2 separate regions of the Homo sapiens genome follow, and region 2 is linked to region 1. Evidence: promoter capture Hi-C in 16 types of primary human blood cells and fetal thymus (Javierre and others, 2016). All regions are on one chromosome and are shown on one strand. The core of a region is centred on a gene start or on the middle of the fragment in contact, and the rest is flanking DNA. Distances in the headings are between cores, read along the strand shown.

Region 1 (6,210 bases), core at 371-2,870:
AGGCAGAAGAATCGCTTGAACCCGGGAGGCAGAGGTTGCAGTGAGCTGAGATCGTGCCATTGCACTGCAGCCTGGGCAACAGTGAGACTCTGTCCCAAAAAAAAAAATTGAGAGAGTAGGTCAAAGGTGAAAATATTAGGTAATATAGAGCAGTGTTGCAAAAACATTTTTCAAATCAATACCTTCTTGATAAATTCACATGCTCCTGAAGATTCTTAATTGCTGTGGATCAGAGCACTAATGCAACCCTGTTGTGAGGCTGGGTGCAGTGGCTCACACCTGTAATCCCAGCACTTTGGGAGGCCGAGGCGGGCGGATCACGTGAGATCAGGAGTTCAAGACCAGCCCGGCCAACATGGTGAAACCCCATCTCTTCTAAAAATACAAAAAAAAAAATTAGCTGGGCGTGGTGGCAGGTGCCTGTAATCCCAGCTACTTGGGAGGTTGAGGCAGGAAAATCGCTTGAACCCAGAAGATGGAGGTTGCAAGGAGCTGAGATTGTGCCACTGCACTCCAGCCTGGGCAACAGAGCGAGACTCCATCTCAAAAATAAAAATAAAAAATAACCCTCTTGTGAGAATTATTGATAGGAAGATAAACTAGCTTTTTTGTATCCTTACCTGCTAAGATGATTTCATCAAGTTTCACTTTCTGTAGTTTGTTTCATGAAAACAAGTTTTTTGACTTTGTAAATATAAAATTACAAGGCACAAAATGCATTTTCAAACCATACATAACTCCTCCAGGAGATTGTTACGTCCAATCCCCATCCTCATTGTTGTGAATCCCAGCTTTAGAGAATCCTTATCACAGGTGGTCCCACAGTGCTTGAAGGCTCAGGCCAAAAGAGACAAGGAGATGGGTCTACCGCCCCCATAGAGGAGACCCTTATGGGAGGGACCCCCACAGGTTCCCAGGCCGGTGTTGGTGACCTCATGCACACCCTGGGAGAGGAGAGGTGACCCCACTTACGTCGGCTGGGGCGAAAACGCAGTTGTTTCCTAACTTCTTGGCTTGGGCCTCCCCACCCGAGTTGGGCAGGTCCAGAAGCACAGCAGAGGCTCCCTGCCCCACAAGTCGCTCCGCCGTGGCCAGGCCCAGGCCCGAGGCTCCTCCGGTTATTACCGCCACCAGGCCCTGTCAAAAGGGACATGGTCAGGGTCAGCTGTTACATTGCCCAGACCATCCCCACGCTGTCGCCTGCCTGTTCTCCAGGCTTCTGAGGAGAAGGGGGGAGGGGAGAGGTCGTGGTCACCCCTGCGGGTAAACTAGGTGTGCTGCTTCTCCTCAGCGTTGGGACCTCGGGGGCAGAAGGGATCTCATCCCCAGACAGCCCGTCCCGTGACGATAGATAGATAGATGATTGATAGATAGATAGATAGACAGACAGACAGACAGACAGATGCGCCGCGGAGTGCTGACTTTCACCTCTTGAGCCCAACGGCCACAATACCAGGCCTACATAAGCATGACCCTTTCCCTCGAAACCGATCTCTTTCTCCTAGTTCCACGGCCGCGCTGTCCCGGCCCGTAAAGGAAGGCAAGCAACAGAGGCAAAGAACCTTCTACCTTCACGCTCCGACACGCTGCTGCCATCTTGTCGCCGGCCACTCCACGGGATGGGGATGGGGGCGCGGGCGCTCGTTGATTGGCCGAGGCGAAGCGGCGGAAGGGGCGGATGCGACGGGCCGGGGCGTCTGCCGCTGCCGCATGAGACGTGGGGGCGTGGCCTGGTACGCTAGTCCTTTGGCCAGAGGGCGGATTCCGCCTGCTAAGGTATCCCCAGAGTTATTTCAACTGGGGAAAGAGACCAATAGCAGAAGTACAATACCACAACACCCCTCGCCCTACTCTCTAGCTGGCCTTTTGGCAAGTGGCCTGCTCCGCGTGGGGGAAGAGGGGTGGATATTGAGAACGGATGCCTTTCTCCTCTGAAAAAGTCTTAATTCAAGTATGAATGTATTTGAGACTCCTATATGCTAGACGGTGTGCGGGGCACCTGGGATACCCAGCGGAATAATAAAAGATTCATGCCTTCCAGGAGGGCACAGTCCAGGTGGAGAAAGAGAATTACAGTACAGACACAGACGAATGGACGGAACCAGATTCTGGGACACTCAGACAAGGAGATCCAAAGATGAGGAGTCTGAGTTAGAGAGAGAGAGAGCCATGTAAAGAGAAATATGTTGAGGCCGAGATAGGAAGAGAGATGCCAGGTAGGATCACAGAGAGATGAATGTGGAAAGCCGCTAAGAGAGATGCTTGGAGACAGACATTCTAGGACAGCTGCTGAGAAGCACAAACCTAAAGAGGCAAAAACATCTTTCATCAGTTCAGGCTTTGCTACTCTCCTCTATCTTTGTCTAATTTAAGTCCAAAAGCCCAGATCACACACTGCAGATTGGACTTCAACCAGAGACTATTATTTAAGACCCAGGTCTTTGTCATCCTAGAACATCTTTCAGGCAGCTTCCAGAAGCTATGTCATTAGAGTCTTGAGCCCAGATATCTAATCTGTCTTCCTTCTATACTTTTCCTCAAACCAAGGTCTTCAGGCCATAAATCTTAGCCCACCATTTCAGCCTCAGAACTGCTTTATGTTTTCTCTATCTGAAATATCTCCCCCCACTTGCTTTCTCACCCAGGAAGATTCCCCTCCAGGCCTTCTAGTTGTTGACAGCCACCACACTCATAATCACTACACCGTATTTACCAAAGGATTTAGCACACCGGTCTCACAATTTTCCTATCTACATGAAGTGCTTCCATCAATTTATAGCACTCTTCATCCGGCCCAATATGCTGTAGCCACAGTGGCCTCCTTTGTGTTCATCTTTGCATTAGCTGCTCCCTCTGCTTGGAATGCTCTCCCCTGATCTTTGCATGACTGCTTTTATTTTTTTTCATTCAGAACTAAGCTTAAATATCACCTTCCCAGAGGGGTCCTCCCTAAATATTCAAACTGTAGCCACCTAGACACTATCCCATTGCATATTTGAATTATCTTCATAGCACTTGCATGTCCGTAATCCATTTTCCAACCTTAGGGCCAGATGTGCTGTGGAATTCAGAGTTTTTTTCAATTTGAGAAAGGAAGACATGTAATTTATATTACATAACTCTTTAAAAAAACTAGTCAAACATAACTTTTTGTATAGTCTATATTATATAACTATTGAGAAAAGCCTGGAGCATCGTAATGAAATATTAATATTTCTGAAGTGAAAGGTATGAAAATTCACACCAAGTGTGAATAAAGACTATAAATAGCCTCACACTACTTCAGGTCAGGTTTTGTCATCTATTGAGTTTGGGCTCCAAAGTATGAAAAAACAACCTTATGCTTTTCAGAAGTTTTGGCATTGCAGGATTGTGCCTACAGGCTTGTGAGCCTGCATGCTCCGCTAACCTGGCCTTGTTTGTGTAGTTCTCCCCCTGCTGGAAGGTAAGCCCCATGGCACCAGGGGCTTGTCCAGCTGGTTCACCTAATGCCGAGAACACTGCTTGGCGTGTACAAGACACTTAAAACAAATGTGTGAAATAAATGAATTAATGAATTAATCTTGGAAGAATTTCCAGGCACAGTTTCATGATTCTTTCACCTGCCCAACTCCGGGAACCTTCACCTCCTCTCTACTTTAACCACCTGTCCAGGCCACCTTATTGCACTTGTCATTCCCTGGAATAACCTCCTGCCCTCCCCAGCATCTACACACCATCTTTTCTCTCTCTGACCATGTTCTCGAGTTGTCTTGGATCTCTTCCCCTCTACCGCTTTTTTTTTTTTTTTTGAGATGGAGTCTCCCGCTGCCCAGGCTGGAGTGCAGTGGCGCATCTTGGCTCACTGCAACCTCCGCTTCCTGGGTGCAAGCAATTCTCCTGCCTCAGCTTCCAGAGTAGCTGAAATTACAGGCATGGGCCACCACGCCTGGCTAATTTTTGTATTTTTAGTAGAGATGGGATTTTACCATGTTGGCCAGTCTGGTGTTGAACTCCTGACCTCAGGTGATCCGCCCTGCCTCAGCCTCCCAAAGTGTTGGGATTACAGGCATGAGCCATCGCGCCCAGCCTCAGCTCTATTATTTACTAGCCGAATGACCCTGGACAAGTTACTTAACTGATGTGCCTCAGTTTCCTCTTCTGTAAAATGAGTATAAACAAATGACTATTCGTAGGGTTGTTAGGAATAAATGAGTTAACAACTATGTATTTAAAAAGGACTTGGAACAGTGCTTGGCCTTTAGCAAGAGCTATATAAGTGTTAGCTATGGTTACTCTTCAGAGCAGTGTTTCTCATCCTTTTCTATGCTACGGACACCTATGGGAGTCTGGTGAAGTCTTAGGAACCCCTTCCCAGAATAATGCATGCGTCCTATAAGTAGGATTACAAAAGAAACCAATTATATTGGGGTACAATTTTCAAAATAAAAGGAAACGCACCTGTAATGTAGTAATATATGTGCTTCTTTATTAACACATTAAATAGCAAGCTCTATCAACAGGTCTAGTGACAACCATGATTTTTGAAATAGTGATGTTATTTTGAGAGATATGCAACAACCGTAATAATGAAAATCTGATCTCTCTTAGTGTCAAAGTCACAGGTGCTAATATTACTGCAGTTTGTTACCCACATCCCCTGGAAGGATATGCTATATTTCTGTTAGTAATAGTGAAAATAATGATGCAATTTCCCCTCTATCCAAGTCCATGGGCTCTTTGAATTCTATTCACTGACTCCTCAGGGGTCTTTTGGATTGTGGGTTAAGAACTGTGTTTAGAGGGAGCTCTCTGAACTTCTTCTGGTTCTGAGGGCTGCACAATTAAAAGAACTGTTTTTAGAGCAAACGGAAGCCATTAGTGAATACTTCTCTCTTGCCACCTCCAAAATTGTCTCTACCCACCCACACCATCCTTTCCTTGGGTCTCAGAGATGTCCTGTTTAGGGCTCACCCTTCCACTGGGTTTTGTGTCCCAGCCCCTCCCACTTTCTTGGGGATTTCTGCTACTGAGCATCCTCTCTCTTGATTGCACGCACCTCTGTCTCAAAACCATTAGAAAATAGGGAATAGGGGCTGAGTGCAGTGGTTCACGCCTGTAATCCTAACATTTTGGGAGGCTGAAGCAGCAGGATGTCTTGAGCCCAGGAGTTTGAGACCAGCCTGGGCAACATAGCAAGACCCTGTCTCCACACACACAAAAAAATAGGGAATAAAGTGATGTCAACCTTTACACGCACATACTCAACAGTTTGGATGCATGTCTCATGGGAACCTGAGGGCCAGAGGTGCGCAAAGGGGCCCAGCAAGGACACCAAAACAAGCAACACGCAGCATTGTGTCAAATTAGCCCTGCCAGGAAACAGAGAAGAATAAAGGTGGTCTTTACTCCTGGGTGGTCTTCACTCCTGGGAGATAAAAACCACAAGATAACCCATTTAACTCTTGTGGGCACCTGCAGTTACCTCTGCAAAGACAGAGCTGCACTGGTTCCAGCTGGCTCTGAGGTGACATTGACAAATATAAAGAATCCCAATTATATCATCATCTATGTGAGGGGAAAAGAAGAACCCCAAGTGATGATTATACAGAGCCTGTCATTTCTGAGTGAGCTGGGGCACAATCTGAATGATTGGTTTAAACGCTGAAGGACTGCAGGGGACATGAAAATTACTGTGGCGAGCGTTTGAGAGGATGCTGAGGACGCATGTTGGCTGAGTGTTTGCCACTTGAATAAATGGGGCTGATGTCTGAATGAACCTGAAGGATGACAGCCTCAGGTTATGGTGACTTTACCGTTGCCTAAATCAACTGTAATTTTTCAGGCTTTGTGTAATCAGACCTTTCTGGCTGCATTTGACATATTCATCACTTGCTCTTCCTAGAAACTCCCACTTGGCTTCCAGGAAGCCTGACTCTCCTGGTTTCTTGTACTCCCCTGATTGTTCTTTTGTCTCTTCCCTGGGTTCTTTTTCTTCTGCCCCCTCTCTGGGGAGCTTATCCATCTCCTGGTTTCAATACTCCCTCTCTGCTGAGGACTTCCCAGTCTCTACTTTGAGCTCATCTTCTCCACTGAACTTCAGAATCATATAGCAAATAATTTGCTGGCCCTCTACACCAGATGCCCTAAATTAAACTCAATCATTGCCCCCTAAAACTGCTGTATCTCAATTGGTTGCAGTACTAACTTCCCAGACACCCAAGCCAGATC
Region 2 (6,210 bases), core at 1,591-4,090, 430 kb before region 1:
GCACAGTGAGGAGGCCAGTGTTGCTGGAAGAGGTGGGAGATGAGCTCAGAAAGGTAATGAGGACCAGATTATACAGGACCTTCTGGGCCATGGCAAGGACTTTGACTTACTCTGAGCGAGCCATGGGAAAGTTTTTAGCAGAGAAGCTCCTATGCTTCTTTCAGAGGCCAGAGGCCCAGGTCACTCAAAGTATAGGGAAGAGCTCCTGGTTTTGCCGAGGGACTCCTCCAGCCCCTCTGCAGCCAAATATGCCTTTCCTGGACAATCCCTTAGACTCAGAAGGTATCCTCCCAACTGCTCCCCAGAAAAATCCATGTCAGAGGATGATACCCTTAGAAGAAGCTGATCAAGGGCCCTGATAGCATGAGTGAGGTCACACCTAGCCCCATGTCTGAGAGAGAAAGTAACAGACACAGAGAAGATAGAGGGAAAGAAAGAGAGTAATAGAGAGACAAGGGCAGAGAGACTACTTCTGGCAGCTGGCTGTCCCTGCTGAATTAGATCCACAGCTCCGGACCCCTATGCATGCTACTAGGTGCTGTGCCTGTGTCTGCAGAGGAAAGGAAGCCTCTCCCCAGAAACTGTGTCTAGGGACTGACTCACCTGCCCTTGGCCTGGGCCTCAGTCATGAGGGAAGACCCGCCCCACTTCCTTGACACACATTGGGACCCTCTACCCATCAGGATAAGGACACGTTCCAGTTATGGGGAGGCTCATGCTGTATACAGAATCCCCCATACCCCCTCCAGCCCTTGACTGCCGTCCTGCTGACTCTCAGTGCTGAAAAAATTCTTTTTTTTTTTTTTTTTTTTTGAGACAGAGTCTTGCTCTGTCACCCAGGCTGTAGTGCAGTGGCACAATCACGGCTCACCGCAGCCTCAACCTCCTGGGCTCAAGCAATCCTCCTACCTCAGCCTCCCAAGTAGCTGGGACTATAGGTGCACGCCACCATGCCCAGCTGATTTTTTTGTTTTGGTTTTGGTTTCTTTGAGACAGAGTTTCCCTCTGTCACCGAGGCTGAGTGCAGTGGTGTGATCTCGGCTCACTGCAACCTCCACCTCCTGGGCTCAAGCGATTCTCATGCCTCAGCCTCCCGAGTAGCTGGGATTACAGGCATGCACCACCATGCCCGGCTAATTTTTGTATTTTTAGTAGAGACAGGGTTTCGCCAGGTTGGACAGGCTGGTCTCAAACTCCTAGCCTCAAGTGATCCACCTGCCTTGGCCTCTCAAAGTGCTGGGATTACAGGCATGAGCCACCATGCCCGGCCTGATTTTTTTTTATATGTTTTGTAAAGACAGGGTTTTGCCATGTTGCCCAAGCTGGTTTTGAACTCCTGGGCTCAAGCCATCTGCCTGCCTCGGCCTCCCAAAAGTGCTGGGATTACAGGCGTGAGCCACCATGCCTGGCCTGAAAAAAATTCTTTCAAGGGGGAAGAAGAGGTAGGAATCTCTACATTTGCTGGTGGACCTCATGCCAATGGATGAATCTGTGGTATTTCCCCACTCTTTACCTCATGCCACCACTTCCACAGGTAACGTGAGGATTGCATTCTCAACATCCATTACCAAGCAGGGTGTGCGACAGAGAGACAGAGAGGCAGACCTCCCACCAGTGAGTCAGTGATGGGGCCCTTGAGGCCCTGGGCAAACCTCTTCCTTTCCCCTTTCCTTGTCATCTCCCATTGACCCCGGCTGTGCCTGAGCCTTTCCCTGTCTCCTCCAGTGAGTCCAAGTTACAGCCAGTTCCTCCCTCTTCATGAGGACTGTGTGAGCACAGGCCCTACCCTCACTTGGCTTCAGCCTCCTCATCTGCAAATGGTGAGCTCCTCATTGGCAATTTGGCAGATTGAGTTAACATGGGTTACATGGGTTTGTCACAGGGGTCGGCCCTGAGCAAGGATGGGGTTAATGTCTGCAGACATTGTCATTAGTATTTGTACCACTGGCTCCTACATGCTACACTGAGGACTTGCCCTCCCTAAGGATAAGGATCCTATGTTTTCATCTCTCTGATACCAGGGCACCTTGTTCTACCCCTGTGAGAGAAAGGACCATCCTGCCTTCCTCACAAAAATATCCTGATATATGAGCAGCTCGGAGACCTAACCTTCTGGACAAAGACCTCCCACAAAAATGTTCAAAGATCTCATGCCTTAGGACAGTGCCCACAAGCAGTTCAGAGACCTCTCACCCTAGACACCAACCACCAAACAGCTCAAAGATGCCACACCTCAGGACACAGACCCCCAACCAGCTCAGAGAATTCCTACCTCAAGGTAACAGCTCACAATAACTCAAGGACCTCACACACCAACCCACAAAGAGCTTACCAGCTACACCCTGGTACACATACCCACAAAGAATCAGCTCAGGGCTGCTGTGTGATGCTGAATCTCTGTGCCATCCAACACTGTTATGGGGAGGCCTTGGATCTTGTAGTTCCCCACAGTCTGCAGTCACCACCGTTGTTGTCATGAGGAAGGCAGGTTCACACCAGGGATGGGGAAGGACCCTCTGGGACTGAGGGGATCAGAGAGTAAGCTCTCATATCTGGCTCCCAGGAATGGCCATCGTCTGACCAACCCTGATCACCTTTGGTCCTGGTGACTTTTGTATCTTGCCCCATGGGGGCTTCAGGGTAAATCCCAGAACACAGTAGGAGACCCCTAGACCCCGTTATCTTTGCCATCTCTCAGCACCCACTGTGGGGAACTGGATCTTGGAGAGAGAGTAGAGGTCCTCCCTTCACACTGCCAATGGCAACCCCCATTATGGCCCTTCTGAGCATTCTGGTCCTTTCTCCCAAACTTCCTCTCCAATTGGCAGCTGCCACACCTCCTCTCTCTCCCCAGCTCCCCACCCTTGTGAGCCACCAGGGCTCCCCTTCCACCACGGACCTCTACCTCCCTACCCCAGCCCTAGTCATGGGGCCTCAGTTATACCCTCTCACGCCCACTTCGGTCCTCTCACCCGGCACCTAGGCCTACCTCAGAGGACCCCCTCAGGACCCTCCCTGCACTTCCTGAAAGTGCAGACCATTTTGCAGGACAGATATCTCTCCTGCCCCCACACAGGTTTCTGTCACAACATCCCTGTTAGGGCAGAACTGGAAATGTCTCCCAGATCCAGATGAAACTCCAGACCCAGACTGAGAGTCCAGGGCAATTCGCCTAGGGCTGGAGGGGGCGGGGTGGGATTCCTGAAGGAGGCGCTGGGGTGAGTGTCACCTCAGGAGATGGGAGGACACTGCCCAGCTGGGTCTGTGAGGACAGAGAAGGGACCCTGGGAGGGACAGGGGCAGCATGAGCGCTGGGAGTGTCCCAACTGCGGTCCTCCGGGAATTGTCATCTGGCCCCAGCTCTGCCCCACCCTGGTTGGAGGGCCCCAGCCAGGGATCTGCCTTCTTGGCGCTCCAGTGTCCTCATCAGCGACAGAGGTGACAGGGCTTTCTTCCAAAGGTGCTAGTGGGGATTAAATGAGATGGCACATAAGAAAGAAGTGCTTGGGACACTGCAAGTCAGATCTGTGATGACCTAAAACTTAGAGCCCTGCGCACTGAGCGCCAGATGACCCCTTGCGAGTGGTCTCACTTAAGCCCTGCCTGTGACTTGGGAAGCATCTTTAGCCTCATACTGAACAACAGTCCAAGTCTTGAAGACTGGATCCCACTGGTCATCCAGTCCTTAAAGCCCAGGCTCCGCTTTACGAACTTCCGCCCATCAGCCACTGTGCCTGACCGTGCGCGAGCGCGAAGACCCAGGGACCCGGCTCTACGAGTGCATCCCGCTGTACTCTGTAAGAGCCGCACTCTCTAGGTGAGCTTCCCAGAGCGGTCCTTGATGCCTTCCTGCCTTGATCGTCCCACAACCGATCGACTGCCCCTTTGCAGGTTCCTAATTTATTCAGATCTGTAGAACGGAGACGGGCGTGGCCAAAAATGGGACTAGAGGGGTCTCCGAGAAGTCGGAGAATGGGTGTCAGCTTGGGCCTGGGTGGAAACCAGGAGGACGGATTGCCGCCTGGGGCGCTCGCCGCCGCGCCCGCCCTACTGTCGAAAGGTGGGGCTGATTTCGTTGGTGGGCGGGGGTGGGCTTTATTGTCCCTCCACACACAGCATTTGTATTCTTACAAAATAGAAGCTCCCTTCCCCTATGGTATCTCGCATAATGGTGTGTTCATTTCCGGTACCCGCAATGGTATGTTACATCCTCCACGCCTCATCCCCAGCTGCACACTCACAGGAGGTGAGATCCAAGAGGGGCCAGCTATTTCATACTTAGGTCCTGTGGATTACTCTAATGGTTCTCAAACTTTAGTGTGCATCAAGAATCACCTAGAGAGCTTGTTAAAACACAGATTGCTGGGCCTCACCTTTCAGAGTTTCTGATTCAGTGGGTCTGGGGAGGGGCCCAAGACTTTCATTTCTTTTTTTTCTTCTTCTTCTTTCTTTCTGTTTTTGCTTTTGAGATGGAGTCTCGCTCTGTTGCCCAGGCTGCAGTGCAGTGGCCGAACTCGGCTCACTGCAACCTCCACCTCCCAGGTCAAGTGATTCTCATGCCCCAGCCTCCGGAGTAGCTGAGACTACAGGCGCACACCACCACACCCGGCTAATTTTTGTATTTTTAGTATTTTTAGTAGGGACGGGGTTTTACCATGTTGGCCAGGCTGGTCTAGAACTCCTGACCTCAGGTGATCCGCCCGCCTCAGCCTCCCAAAGTGCTGGGATTACAGGCATGAGCCACTGCACTCGGCCAAGACTGCATTTCTAACTGTGCCCAGCCACTCTTCCACACAGCTAAGTAGACTTTTATTCCCACCTTCCTCCACTGTATTACTAGTAGACCAGCCCTTCCCCATCTTTTTCTCCCTCTCTCCCCAACAACACACCCAGATAAAGTCTTATCACCAGACCCTGAAGATCTTAAAGGGAGCAAAGGTCTAAGCATCGAGTCCACTGCCACAGAGCTCCTGCCCCATGAGTGGTGTGACTATGCCAGTCAACAAACTTTTCTTCTCCTGCACCACTGATGAATAACATCAGAGCAGCATCTATCAAAATGAAAAATCCTTATATGTAAGCCCTTAGAATGTTACATCCATGAGGGCAGGGGCATTTTCCTATCCAGTTTCCTCAGTCTCTCCAGTGCCCACCACACAGCAGGCACTCACTGCATGGTTGTTGAATGGCTGAACTCTTTTTCCCTAGCAATTCCACTTAAAAGAATGTATAATGAAGAAACATACACATAGCACAGAGCTTAGTATACAAGGAAGATAGTAGCAAACAATCAGGGAAAACCTCTAAATGTCCATTCATAGTCAGTGATCACTGGATGGTAAATGAACAATGAGAGACTTGTATTATATCAGGGAGCAGTCACTGGCCACGGAACAGAATGAGGGGACCAGACTATACTGGTCAAAGGAATCTTCTTCAGGACACGCTCTTAATGGGGGAATGTGGAAAAGTTCATAGTGGGACCTGGGGTGTGTGTGTGTGTGTGTGTGTGTGTGTTTAAACACAGAGAAATGTATTTGAAGAAAACAAGCAAACACCCAGATCCTCACCCCAGTGGTAAGCTGGGAAGGGAGAGAATGTGGAGGAAGGGGATGGCCTATGTAGTCCGTGTACTGATGTACTAATGGAGTCTTTTATTCTTCTTTTTTTGAGACAGGCTCTCACTGTGTCACCCAGGCTGAGTGCAGTGGTGTGATCACAGCTCACTGCAGCCTCAATCTCCTGGGCTCTAGGGATCCTCCCACCACAGCCTCCCAAGTAGCTGGGGCTACAGGCGTGTGCCACCACACCTGGCCATTTTTTAGTTTTTTGTAGAGACAGGGTCTCACTATGTTGCCCAAGCTGGTCTTAACTCCTGAGCTCAAGTGATCCTCCCACCTTGGCCTCCCAAAGTTCTGGGATTACAGGTATGAGCCACTGTGCCCAGCCTAATGGAGTCTTTTACACCAGGCCCATATTCGAGTATTATTTGAGTAACTATAAAGCAAAGTCATGTGATGAAAGCAATCCCTACACCACAGAGGAGTTTTGTGTGAGGGTATCTGGAGGGTGTCCAGGAATAGGGTTATCAAAGTTACATGCCCGAGGGGCTAGACAATGTGCATAAGAGAACCCAGCTCATCTCAATGTAAGGAAGATCAGCGCAATGAGTATGCTAAATGTTCCCTGCCAATCAGCCTCTGGAGTGAA

The links. Contacts are between HindIII fragments. The CHiCAGO score rates a contact against its expected background, and 5 or more counts as called.
Region 2: a fragment that was not itself captured here is called in contact with the fragment with the promoter of HSD17B10 in region 1 in 3 of 17 cell types (fetal thymus, total B cells and naive CD4 T cells); the score reaches 8.1 in fetal thymus.

The regions. Positions count from the first base shown.
Region 1 is chrX:53,432,750-53,438,959 of GRCh38, forward strand. HSD17B10 (hydroxysteroid 17-beta dehydrogenase 10) reads right to left here and starts at 1,621. Exons shown (of 6, transcript NM_004493.3): 1 at 1,570-1,621; 2 at 973-1,137. The coding sequence starts at 1,596. The HindIII fragment of the contact is 11,572 bases long and covers 1-2,916 here.
Region 2 is chrX:52,996,830-53,003,039 of GRCh38, forward strand. No RefSeq gene overlaps it. Among named protein-coding and RNA genes, the nearest start is that of FAM156A, 41 kb to the left of the region's middle. The HindIII fragment of the contact is 8,235 bases long and covers 1-6,210 here.